Regions from separate parts of the Homo sapiens genome. Here region 1 is linked to region 2. Evidence: promoter capture Hi-C in 16 types of primary human blood cells and fetal thymus (Javierre and others, 2016). All regions are on one chromosome and are shown on one strand. Each heading gives the region's core, a stretch centred on a gene start or on the middle of the fragment in contact. The rest is flanking DNA. Distances are from core to core; before and after follow the strand shown. Region 1 overlaps LOC105370502 (a long non-coding RNA gene). Region 2 holds the start of ERO1A (endoplasmic reticulum oxidoreductase 1 alpha).

Region 1 (5,800 bases), core at 1,059-3,558, 520 kb before region 2:
TCACACTTTAATTCATTTCAAAGATGATTTGGGACATAACAACCAATATATAGTGTCAGGTTCATGACTATGCCAATTGTCATGTTGAGGTCCAAAGAGAGTAGATGGATGAAGAGAAAGAACACTCAGGGAGCCTTAGGCAGGTGAAAGATGATTTTATTCAGCAGCAGCTCTCATCAACAGCTTTCTCATCAGCAGCTTACTTACACTGTCTCTCTCGCACTGTCCTCCCTGTCTCGGCTGCTTGCTCTGAACTGCTCCCACACACACAGCTGCACAGCCGGTTCTCCCCTGCTTTCAGGGTCAGCAGCTTAACTCTTTCTCTGTTTCCCTGGGCACGAGAGACAAGCCAAGCCATGACCTGGCTCCCCTCTGTCCATCCACAAGAAAGACAGCTCTGGTTCTCTCTCTGTTTCTCTGGGCACCAGTACAAGAGCCATGCTGAGCCATGCCTAAGAGCCAAGCCCCATGCAATACTGTCAGCCGGGCAGTTATACCTTTTAAAGACAACAGCAGCTCCAAGCCAAGAATGAACTTACACAAACAGGTGATAACAAATGGAGTATGAGCCTGCACCCTAAACCCACTGAATCATGCAGGCCTGGATGTCTGCCTTGGCCTAACCTTGACCAAAGAACATCCATGTACCTTACATATAGTTAAAGCTATCAAATTGGATGAGATCTGGTCTATTACTAGCCCCTTACACATGGCAAAGGGAAAAATCAATCATTATGTTCTACAGCAACACCCACATAGTGTGTGTGTTTCCCCATGAGGATACAGTCTACCTCTATCTATGAAGCAGTAGAAAGAACACTCAGCAAGGAGTTGGGAAACATGGTTTCTGTTTCCAGCTCCTACATTACAATGTGACCCTAGGCAACTCATTTAAGCTCTCAGAGGCCTCTGATGTGAAAAGGCTGGATTGTGTGATCTCTATGGTTATTTCCAGCACTGGAATGGGAATTCCCTTTGAACCCTATTTCCTGATTCATTATCCAGCCCTTTTCCTCCCTTCGGTGACCCCCGTTGGCCTCCAAGGTGCCAATTAGCAGTTCAACTTGAGAAGGAGAAAAAGGAAAGTAAAAAATGTTTGCTCTATGCTGGTTATTATGACAAGAAAATATATAAATGGGAAAAACTAACATTATTAAAGTTGTTTGGACCTGGAGGTTTTGGTTCATATGGATTCACTCTATCACAGAAGATCACAGACAATGTAAATTCAGCTACACTCCAAGAAAGACCATTTAAACTAGGCTTATTTAAAGGCAAATAGGGATGTCCCTATGCTTCAGTCTTCCCATGCATTTCTACAGAAATCTTCTAGTTATAACATTCCAATTATAAAAAAAAGTGTTCAGCCAACTTCATAATTTAATTTTCAGAAAAATAAATAAATACAACCAAACACAAAGCTTTTTCTTTAAATGTAATTAATGATCCAATGACCTAAAAGGGAAAGATTAAGCTTTCCGGAACAATAAAAATACATGGATCTGAGCAAAATTTGGGGGAAATTCCTAGTATAGTCAGCTTACTATGTTCAACTTACTTTAAGTTCAAGCCATGACAAACTTCACAGAATGCTACAAATGACCTTTCCTCTGATTTGGGGGATACTTTTTCAATGGTGTGCAATGCTCCTTCCTCTCTTCTCTGTATGGAAAATGCTTGCATCCAGTGTTCTCAAACTTGGGTGATGTGTATCATAATCCCCCCCCACCCTCCCCCCCATGGTGGGCATGTTAAAAAAAAAATACAAAACAGATGGCTGGTCCCTACCCTCAGTTTGTAATTCATTAAGTCTGGAAAGGGCCCAACAAATGGCATTTCTAACATGTTCTCAGGGGATGCAGATGCTGCTGGCCAGGAATCACATTTTAGGAACCACCAGTCCTATGCCTACTTCTATTTGAAAAACTCAGCTCAAATCCCACTCCCTGAGTGAAGATGGGGTAGAGAAGGGAGGGGTATCCCCTGTTCCTTCTCCTCCCAAAAGGCTATCAATAGCTCCATAGCACAGCTGTTTTACATCTCTGGTCCCAATCTGCTCACCAGATCTGTTTCTACCCCACCTCCACCCCACTCCTTTGCAACTTACTTGAAAGGGAGGCCCAAATCTTATTCCTACTTTTATGTTTCTCAGTATCTACAACAGTGTCCACTCCCACCAGATACTTAATAAATGGACCCCCCCTACACACACACAAAATACACAAATGAACAGAAAAATGACTATGAAAGCACTTTTAAAGTCAAAGTGCTATGAAAAACATGTTGCAAATGAATCTGCAACCTAGTTACAATACAGACTTGCTTGTTTGTTTGTTTTTTGAAACGGAGTCTCACTCTCACCCAGGCTGGAGTGCAGTGGTACAATCTCAGCTCTCTGCAACCTCTGCTCCCAGGCTCAAGCAATTCTCCTGCCTTAGCCTACTGAGTAGCTGGGATTACAGGCACCCGCCACCACGCCTGGCTAATTTTTGTATTTTTTTTTAGTAGAGTCGGGGTTTCACCATGTTGGCCAGGCTGCTCTCGAACTCCTGACCTCAAGCAATCTGCCCACCTCAGCCTCCCAAAGTTCTGGGATTACAGGTGTCAGCTACCTTACCTCACCTTAAAATGCAGACTTTGATTCAGAAAGTCTAAGGTGGGGCCTGAGAGTTTGTATTTTTAATAAGCTGTAGGTGAGGCTAACACTGTCTATGGCCCACACTCTAAGTTGCAAGGTTTTATACTGGTGGTTCCCAGCTTTGACTATACATTAGAATTTCCCCATGGATCTCTGAGAATATAGAGTCTGATCCACTTCCCAAATTAAATCAGAATCTCCGAGTGTGAGACCCAGACATCAGTATTTTTAAAATGTTCCTCAGTAATTCTAATGCACAGCCAGGGCTGAGAATAGTTGATCTCTAAGTAATCACACATGATATATTCAAATTACCTTAAAATCTAAACTATGTGTTCCAAACATGAGAGTTTTCTATTATTTATGATTGCATTAATGTTGATTATACCAAATATATCATTTTATTCTCTTCAAATCACTTACTTATTGTAAAATAATGTCTTTACCCAGCATTATCTAAACAGCCAGAAAAGAAACTTCTAACAGCTTTTAAAATAAAGCTTTACTTAATATTTAAAGTTTACTTAATGTTTACTTGAATTTTCTCAACTTACTACCATCTTTAAAAAAAAAAGATCAGTAACTGTTTTATACAATAATTATGATATATATTTTTCTTAGAAATAGGCCAATGTACCTCCCAAAGAAAGTGCCCTCAACATTAAGGATGCCAAGTGTCAGATGTCACAGCATGTGGTCCTAAAAAGCTGACTTCCAGAGTGCTCCATTGTTTTTTGTTGTTTGTTTGTTTTGAGACAGAATTTCGCTCGTTGCCCAGACTGGAGTGCAATGGCGCGAACTCGGCTCACTGCAGCCTCCGCCTCCCAAGTTCAAACAATTCTCCTGCCTCAGCCTCCTGAAAGTAGCTGGGATTACAGGCACCCGCCACCACACCCAGCTAATTTTTGTATTTTTAGTAGAGACGGGTTTTCACCATGTTGGCCAGGCTGGTCTCGAACTCCTGACCTGAGGTGATCCACCCACCCCAGCCTCCCAAAATGCTGGGATTACAGGCATGAACCACCGTGCCCGGTTTCCGTTGTTTTTATAGTCTGTCTTAAAGAAGCAGAGTCAGGTGACTTTAAAAAAATCTATTTTAAGAAAAATTATCAAATAAAAATCCACAGCTACACAGAAGATATATTAGAGAGTGTTCTTTCAAACAAAATAAAGATCTTAATAGCATACCTTTAACTTATAAGTAAGTCACCAGAGTTCCTATAAAATATAATCCAGTCTTCTACTCAATTTCTACCAACTCTTCACAAAGACATCTGTGCCATAATGTAAGGAATGTTTATAGGGTTAACTTTGATCTTGGTGTTTAAAAAAGCAGCCCAGATAATACAAAACTTTCTAGACTTGGAGTGATCTGTTTTAACATTGTACTAGAAACGGGCTACATAATCCATTTCAGGTCCCTGAATCCTGGGTTTCAATCAGCAGATGCTGGAATCTCCTCTTGCCAAAATGTGAATTAAAATATCTCGTACAGTACTAGGAAGAGGTACTCGGCCAACACTGCCAACTCTAGTGTTGCTGCAGCTGAGTCTCAGAATGATAAAGAGAAGCTCAGTTATGCATTTGGTCAAACCAAAGCTGAGTGCAGGAACTAAGTAAACCTCTCACAAGCCTCTTACCCTTTAAGAATAAAAGATTGAGGAGAGGATGTGGAGAAATAGGAACACTTTTACACTGTTGGTGGGACTGTAAACTAGTTCAACCATTGTGGAAGTCAGTGTGACAATTCCTCAGGGATCTAGAACTAGAAATACCATTTGACCCAGTCATCCCATTGCTGGGTATATACCCAAAGGACTATAAATCATGCTGCTATAAAGACACATGCACACGTATGTTTATTGTGGCACTATTCACAATAGCAAAGACTTGGAACCAACCCAAATGTCCAACAATGATAGACTGGATTAAGAAAATGTGGCACATATACACCACGGAATACTATGCAGCCATAAAAAATGATGAGTTCATGTCCTTTGTAGAGACATGGATGAAATTGGGAATCATCATTCTCAGTAAACTATCACAAGGACAAAAAACCAAACACTGCATATTCTCACTCATAGGTGGGAATTGAAGAATGAGAACACATGGACACAGGAAGGGGAACATCACACTCTGGGGACTGTTGTGGGGTGGGGGTAGGGGGTAGGGATAGCATTAGGAGATATACCTAATGCTAAATGACAAGTTAATGGGTGCAGCACAGTAGCATGGCACATGTATACATATGTAACTAACCTGCACATTGTGCACATGTACCCTAAAACTTAAAGTATAATAATAATAAAATAAAATAAAATAATAATAAAAAAAAGGAAAAAAAACAAAATTACTTTCACACATACAGACTTAGTATCACTCATAATACAAAAGAAATGTTTAATAAATGTGTACTAGATTAATAAAAGAAATAAAAGACTGAAATAATAACCTTTAGAAGACTAATAGTTAAAATTCTTCATTAGGTACAACTCTTATGATGTACCTTTTCTGATAATCTTACATTTCCAGGCAATTGTAATTGTCAAAGAGATATTTGAAACAGCATGATTTGTATTCATGTTAAAAAAAAAAAAAAGATGACAATGTGCCAAATTCAATAAATTGTGCTATTGTGAAATATAACCATCTGACGGAAAGGAGAAGTGCCAGGAATTGGCCAAAGGGTTCTCTACACATAAATTTCCTAACGGACTGAAGTTTGTATTCTTATGGCTGAACTCAAAACACAAAAATGCTTTGTACATATTAAGGAAAAGCATTATTAAACCTAAGATCCAGCTTTTATTCCCCTCTAATTAACTCAGCACCTTGAAATCTGGTTTCCAGTTTTATCCTTTTTCTGAAACTTTTCTAAGATTAGCAATGGCATCCCACAGAAAAGAGAACAGGTGCCAGAAATCTGGAGAATATCTTTTCCCCCACTGATTTTCAACAAAGGGAAGAATATAAATTATATAAAACAAAATGGGTGGCAAATAAATCCACCATTGATTCTAGGAAAATCTCTAGAATTATTTTAAATATATTAAACACTTAGAAAATTGTGATCACAAGGAATTACACTGAATTCAAGAACACTCATGACAAACATTTTTTCCTAAGATTCGTAATGTGGTAAAAATCTCAGAACTGCTA
Region 2 (5,471 bases), core at 1,968-4,467:
AATGGCGTGAACCCGGGAGGCGGAGCTTGCAGTGAGCGAGATCGTGCCACTGCACTCCAGGCTGGGTGACAGAGCGAGACTCCGTCTCAAAAAAAAAAAAAAAAAGGAAATTCTGTAATTTGTGACAATATGGATTAACCTAGAGGCCATGATACCAAGTGAAATAAGCCAGGCACAAGAAAACAATTACCACATAATCTCACTTACATGTGGAATCTAAAAAAGTTTATCTCATAGAAACAGTAGAAAGGTAGTCACCAGAGGCCGGTGGGCAGGGAGGATGGGGAAAGGGGAGATGTTGGTCAAAGTGCAAAGTTTCAGTTAGACTGCAGGAATAAGTTTTAGTGATCTAATGCACTGCATGGTGACCACAGTTAATAAGAATTGCAAAATTGCTAAAAGAATAATTTTTTAATGTTCTCATCAATGAAAAATGAAAAGTTGGTGAGGCAATGTATCTGTTAATAAGCTTTATTTAATCTTTCTACAATGTATGCATAGATCAAAACATCCCATTGTATCCTATAAATATACACAATTATTATTTGTCAATTAAATATTTTTTAAAAAGTACATACTAAGTTCCATGGATGTCTCTCCAAGTGTAGGAACTGGACCTTATACATCTTTGTATCCCAAATGTCAAGCTCAGCTTGTCACAGAGTAAGTTTACTGAATTGAAATCATTGAGAGACTGGAACTGGGTTAGGAGGAAACCAGGAAGACGACTTAAGACAGGGAGAACATGACCTGGGTCTGGCCCTAAAAAGGATAACTGGGGCCTGTATATAGGAATATGAAAAAGAGCTTTTGGCCAGGTGCGGTGGCTCACGCCTGTAATCTCAGCACTTTGGGAGTCCAAGGCAGGCGAATCACGAGGTCAGGAGGTTGAGACCATCCTGGCTAACATGGTGAAACCCTGTCTCTACTAAAAATGCAAACAACTTAGCTGGGCGTAGTGGCACGCGCCTGTAGTCCCAGCTGCTCAGGAGGCTGAGGCAGGAGAATCACTTGAACCCAGGAGCTGGATTTGCAGTGAGCCAAGATTGCGCCACTGCACTCCAGCCTGGCGACAGAGTGAGAATCTATCTCAAAAAAAAAAAAAAAAAGAAAAAGAAAAAAAAAAAAAAAAGCTTTCAGGTTAGGAGGGAGATTGTATTAATATGTACATGTGACATGTTGTAGATACTAGAATTAGAGCTTCTCAGGTCCATCAGGATCTCAGATGGGTTGTTGACTTTTACTACATGTCTACTTGGCAGTGATAGGCAGAGCTCTAGGGTTTGCAGTAAAATACATGAGTTTAAGTCATTTGAACTATTTCAACTTTTAATGTGCATGCAAGATGTCGGAAAGCTGCCAGTTTCACCTAGAAACTACCTTCTTAGGCTTGGTGAAGTGGCTCACACCTGTAATCCCAGCACTTTGGGAGGCAGAGGCAGGCAGATCACTTAAGGTCAGGAGTTCGAGACCAGCCTGGCCAACATGGTGAAACCACATGTCTACTAAAAATACAAAAGTTAGCTGGGTATGGTGGCGCAGGCCTGTAATCCCAGCTACTCGGGTAGCTGAGGCGTAAGAATCACTTAAACCCGGGAAGCGGAGGTTGCAGTGACCCGAGATTGCGCCACTGCACTCCAGCCTGGGTGAGGAAGTGAGAGTGTCTCAAAAAAAAGTCTTCTTAAAACAACAAACAAACAAACAAACAAAAAACAAAAAGTAAGGCCAGGTGCGGTGGCTCATGTCTGCAATTCTAGCACTTTGGGAGGCTGAGATGGGTGGGTCACCTGAGCTCAGAGCTAGAGACCAGCCTGGCCAACATGGCAAAACCCCTTCTCTACTGAAAATACAAAAATTAGCCGAGTGTGTGGTGGCTTACGCCTGTAATCCCAGCTACTGGGGAAGCTCAGGCAGGAGAATCTCTTGAACCTGGGAGGCAGAGATTGCAGTAAGCCAAGATGACGCCACTGCACTCCAGCCTGGGCGACAGAGCGAGACTCCGCCTCGAAAAAAAAAAAAAAAGTAATCCCAGCACTTTGGGAGGCTGAGGCGGGAGAATCGCTCTTGAGGAGTTTGAGACCAGCCTGGGCAACATGGTGAAACCTCGTTTCTACTAAAAATAAAATTAGCCAGGCGTGGTGGCGCACGCCTGTAGTTCATGCTACTCAGGAGGCTTAGGTGGGAGGATCGCTTGAGCCCAGGAGTTCGAGGTTGCAGTGAGCTGCGATCGCATCATTGCAGGCCAGCCTGGGTGACCCAGGGAGACCCTGTCTGGAAAAAAAAAAAGCGGATAGACTAGTCCCAACTCTGAATGTTAAAAGACCAGGACTGGGTATCAGAGGACCTCCAATCCTTGCTCACCTTACCTCACTTCTCTAGGCCTGTTTCTTCCTATGATATGAGCGGGTGGCTTCCACCCTCGCTGTCTAATACAGTGGGCACTAGCCAGCCACATTTGACTATGAAATGGGTCTAGTTCGCATCGAATACACACTGGATTTCAAAGACAAAAAAAGTCAAATATCTTATGAATAAATTTAATGTTGGTTATATTTTGAAATAATATTTTGCACATTCGGGGTTAAATAAAAATATTTTAAAAATAAAATGTACCTGTTATTTTTACTCTTTTGCTGTGGCTACTAAAAATATAAATGACATATGCTGCCCTGGTCTAGATGCTCTCTAATATCCCTTTCAGCTTTAAGACTCCGCCGGGAACACGGTGGACACGTAATTCGTACGATTTGATTGTCTCGCATTGAGATACGGAAGGATTGGCCGGGAGTGAGCGGGCTGGGGCTGGGCGGGGCGGCGCGGGGCGGGCACCCCCCGCCCCCCAACCCCGCAGGAAAACACAGGCCCCTCCGGCTTTCGCTCTCGCTCTGGGAACTGGAAGGACCCCCGACTCCCGCGCAGGGTCTGGGGTTGTGCGCGTCGGGTTGCGTCTCCAGGCCGGGGGCGTCAGGGAGCCGGGGGCGGGGACGGGCGCGGGCGCAGCGGACCGGGCGGGGCCGAGCCGGGAAGCTGGTCGGTGCGTCAGCCTCACGCGGCGGGAAGGAACCGGTCCGAGGCCCCGGGCTGCCGGCGCGGGCGCCGCGGCACGTCCACAGGCTGGGTCGCGAGGTGGCGATCGCTGAGAGGCAGGAGGGCCGAGGCGGGCCTGGGAGGCGGCCCGGAGGTGGGGCGCCGCTGGGGCCGGCCCGCACGGGCTTCATCTGAGGGCGCACGGCCCGCGACCGAGCGTGCGGACTGGCCTCCCAAGCGTGGGGCGACAAGCTGCCGGAGCTGCAATGGGCCGCGGCTGGGGATTCTTGTTTGGCCTCCTGGGCGCCGTGTGGCTGCTCAGCTCGGGCCACGGAGAGGAGCAGCCCCCGGAGACAGCGGCACAGAGGTGCTTCTGCCAGGTGAGCGATGTGCGCGTTGGTGCTGAGGGTCCCGGCGCCCTCCGCGGCGTGCACTGTCCCGCACGCCCTGGCGGGTGAGCGGCTGGGGGTGCGTCCTTGCATCTCTTCCCACCGGGAATGAGACTCCGGTGCTGCTGCCCGGTGGCCGGGACTGAGTCTGGCTTGGCGTGGACCGGGCCTCCACGGCAGCCTGGACGTCGCCGCGCCCTCCGGTGCCTCGGACCAGGAGAGGGGTTGGGTGCACGCGGTTGAGTGGGTTTATGCATCTTTGTTGGTCTTATCTGCCCGGGGAGAGTGTGCACAGTGTATAATGCCCTGCCAGTATTTGCTATTTTCACAGAACCTGGATCTTTCTCACTTCTCTCTTGACCAGGAACTTGTGTACCCAGTACCTGTGCTGCGTGCATTTCGCCAGCCTTTCTGGCTAAGACGTTTGTGGGCTGATCTCAGATTTCGATGTTAGGCGGAAGAATGGCTGCTTGCGGTTTTTCTGTGTGTAAGCCCAACTACCTGATGTCTTTGGGACTGCAGTTGCCCTCTGGTTTCTGGTCCTGTGTGCTCTTTTTCTCGAATGTAATGAGATTCTCTTATCGTGACACCCGTTAAGCTGGTACGAATTGGGAGGAAGGTCCTTATTCTTCAGTGCACAAGTTTAATTACAAGCGGATTATGATCATTTCCTTCTGTAAGAGATGTGGTTTCTTGAGCAAAAAATTGAGAGAAACTTACAGTTTTCCATTATCTTCAGTATCTAGTATTTCAATGTGATTACTCTTGTCAAAGCCACTTTTTGGTTGACTCTGTTGATAAAAATTACGTTTTATACAAAATTAAGGGTTAGGCATCCATGTTATTCCTAAGTGGATTTTGCTATTAATTTATTATCAGAAATACCATTTTATGTGTTTAGGGGCATGATACCATGTCAAAGGAAAGATGCATTTAAATATTATGAAAGGTTTCTCTTTCACTACTTTACATTCTTGGATTTTGTTGTTTTGCTGAGTGATTTGGGAGTTGAGGTGAGTGTTATCTAGGAAACTAAGGGAAGTTGAAAGAAAATTGCTACTTTACAACTGAGACATTGAAAAGTCCTTTACCTTCAATCATTACAAAGGACACACAATCAAGTACTTAAAAGGAAAAGGGTCATTTTTCTTCTGATTAGAAATATAACGCAACACCGAGATTAAACATTTAAAAAATAAGATAGAAATAAGTGACTTTAAAATAAAATATTCTTTACGGAAAGAAGATGTCCAATGTAACATTTTCAGCTACATTCTGGAGATTTGGATACTGGAATAAAAGTACATGTTGAACTCTTCAACTTTTACTTTTTTTTTCCTTAATAACCTTTTTGGAGTTCTGCTTAAAATAGAACTTTAAATTCTTTGCATTTATTTTCTTTTTCTTCTAACTAGTGATTAAACTTTTCCTCTTTCACAATACCCTCATATTCAAATACTTCCCTAACATAAAATTCTGTTAAACCCCTTTCTTTTTCTTTTAGAACGAGAGTGGCTATCTGTGTTTCTTTTCAGACTCAACCTTGAAAAATAGTAAATTGGGCTGGGTGTGGTGGCTCCAGCCTGTAATCCCAGCACTTTGGGAGGCTGAGGTGGGAGGATCTCTTGAGTCCAGGAGTTCAAGACCAGCACGGGCAACATAGTGAAACCCCCGTCTCTACAAAAAAAATTAAAAAAAGAAAAAAGCTGGGTGTGATGGTGTGCGCCTGTGGTCTCAGCTACTTGGGACACTGAGGTGGCAGGATGGAGTGAGCCCAGGAGTTCGAGACCAGCTTGGAGACCCGGTCTGTATTAGTCCGGGTTCTCTAGAGGGATAGAACCAATGGAATATATATATAAAGGGAGTTTATTAAGTATTAATTCACATGATCACAAGGTCCCGCAATAGGCTGTCTGCAGGCTGAGGAGCAAGGAGAGCCAGTCTGAGTTCCGAAACTGAAGAACTTGGAGTTTGGTATTTGAGGGCAGGAAGCATCCAGCATGGGAGAAAGATGTAGGCTGGAAGGCTAGGCCAGTCTCTCACGTTTTTCTGCCT

Evidence for each region. Contacts are between HindIII fragments. The CHiCAGO score rates a contact against its expected background, and 5 or more counts as called.
Region 1: a fragment that was not itself captured here is called in contact with the fragment with the promoter of ERO1A in region 2 in 1 of 17 cell types (M2 macrophages); the score reaches 5.8 in M2 macrophages.

What each region holds. Positions count from the first base shown.
Region 1 is chr14:53,209,066-53,214,865 of GRCh38, reverse strand. The region is part of intron 5 of LOC105370502 (a long non-coding RNA gene); the gene reads right to left. Among named protein-coding and RNA genes, the nearest start is that of DDHD1-DT, 59 kb to the right of the region's middle. The HindIII fragment of the contact is 1,664 bases long and covers 1,477-3,140 here.
Region 2 is chr14:52,693,304-52,698,774 of GRCh38, reverse strand. It overlaps ERO1A (endoplasmic reticulum oxidoreductase 1 alpha), which reads left to right and starts at 3,217. Exons shown (of 16, transcript NM_014584.3): 1 at 3,217-3,407. The coding sequence starts at 3,294. RefSeq lists a silencer at 2,746-3,285 and enhancers at 3,536-3,585, 3,191-3,692. The HindIII fragment of the contact is 13,242 bases long and covers 1,136-5,471 here.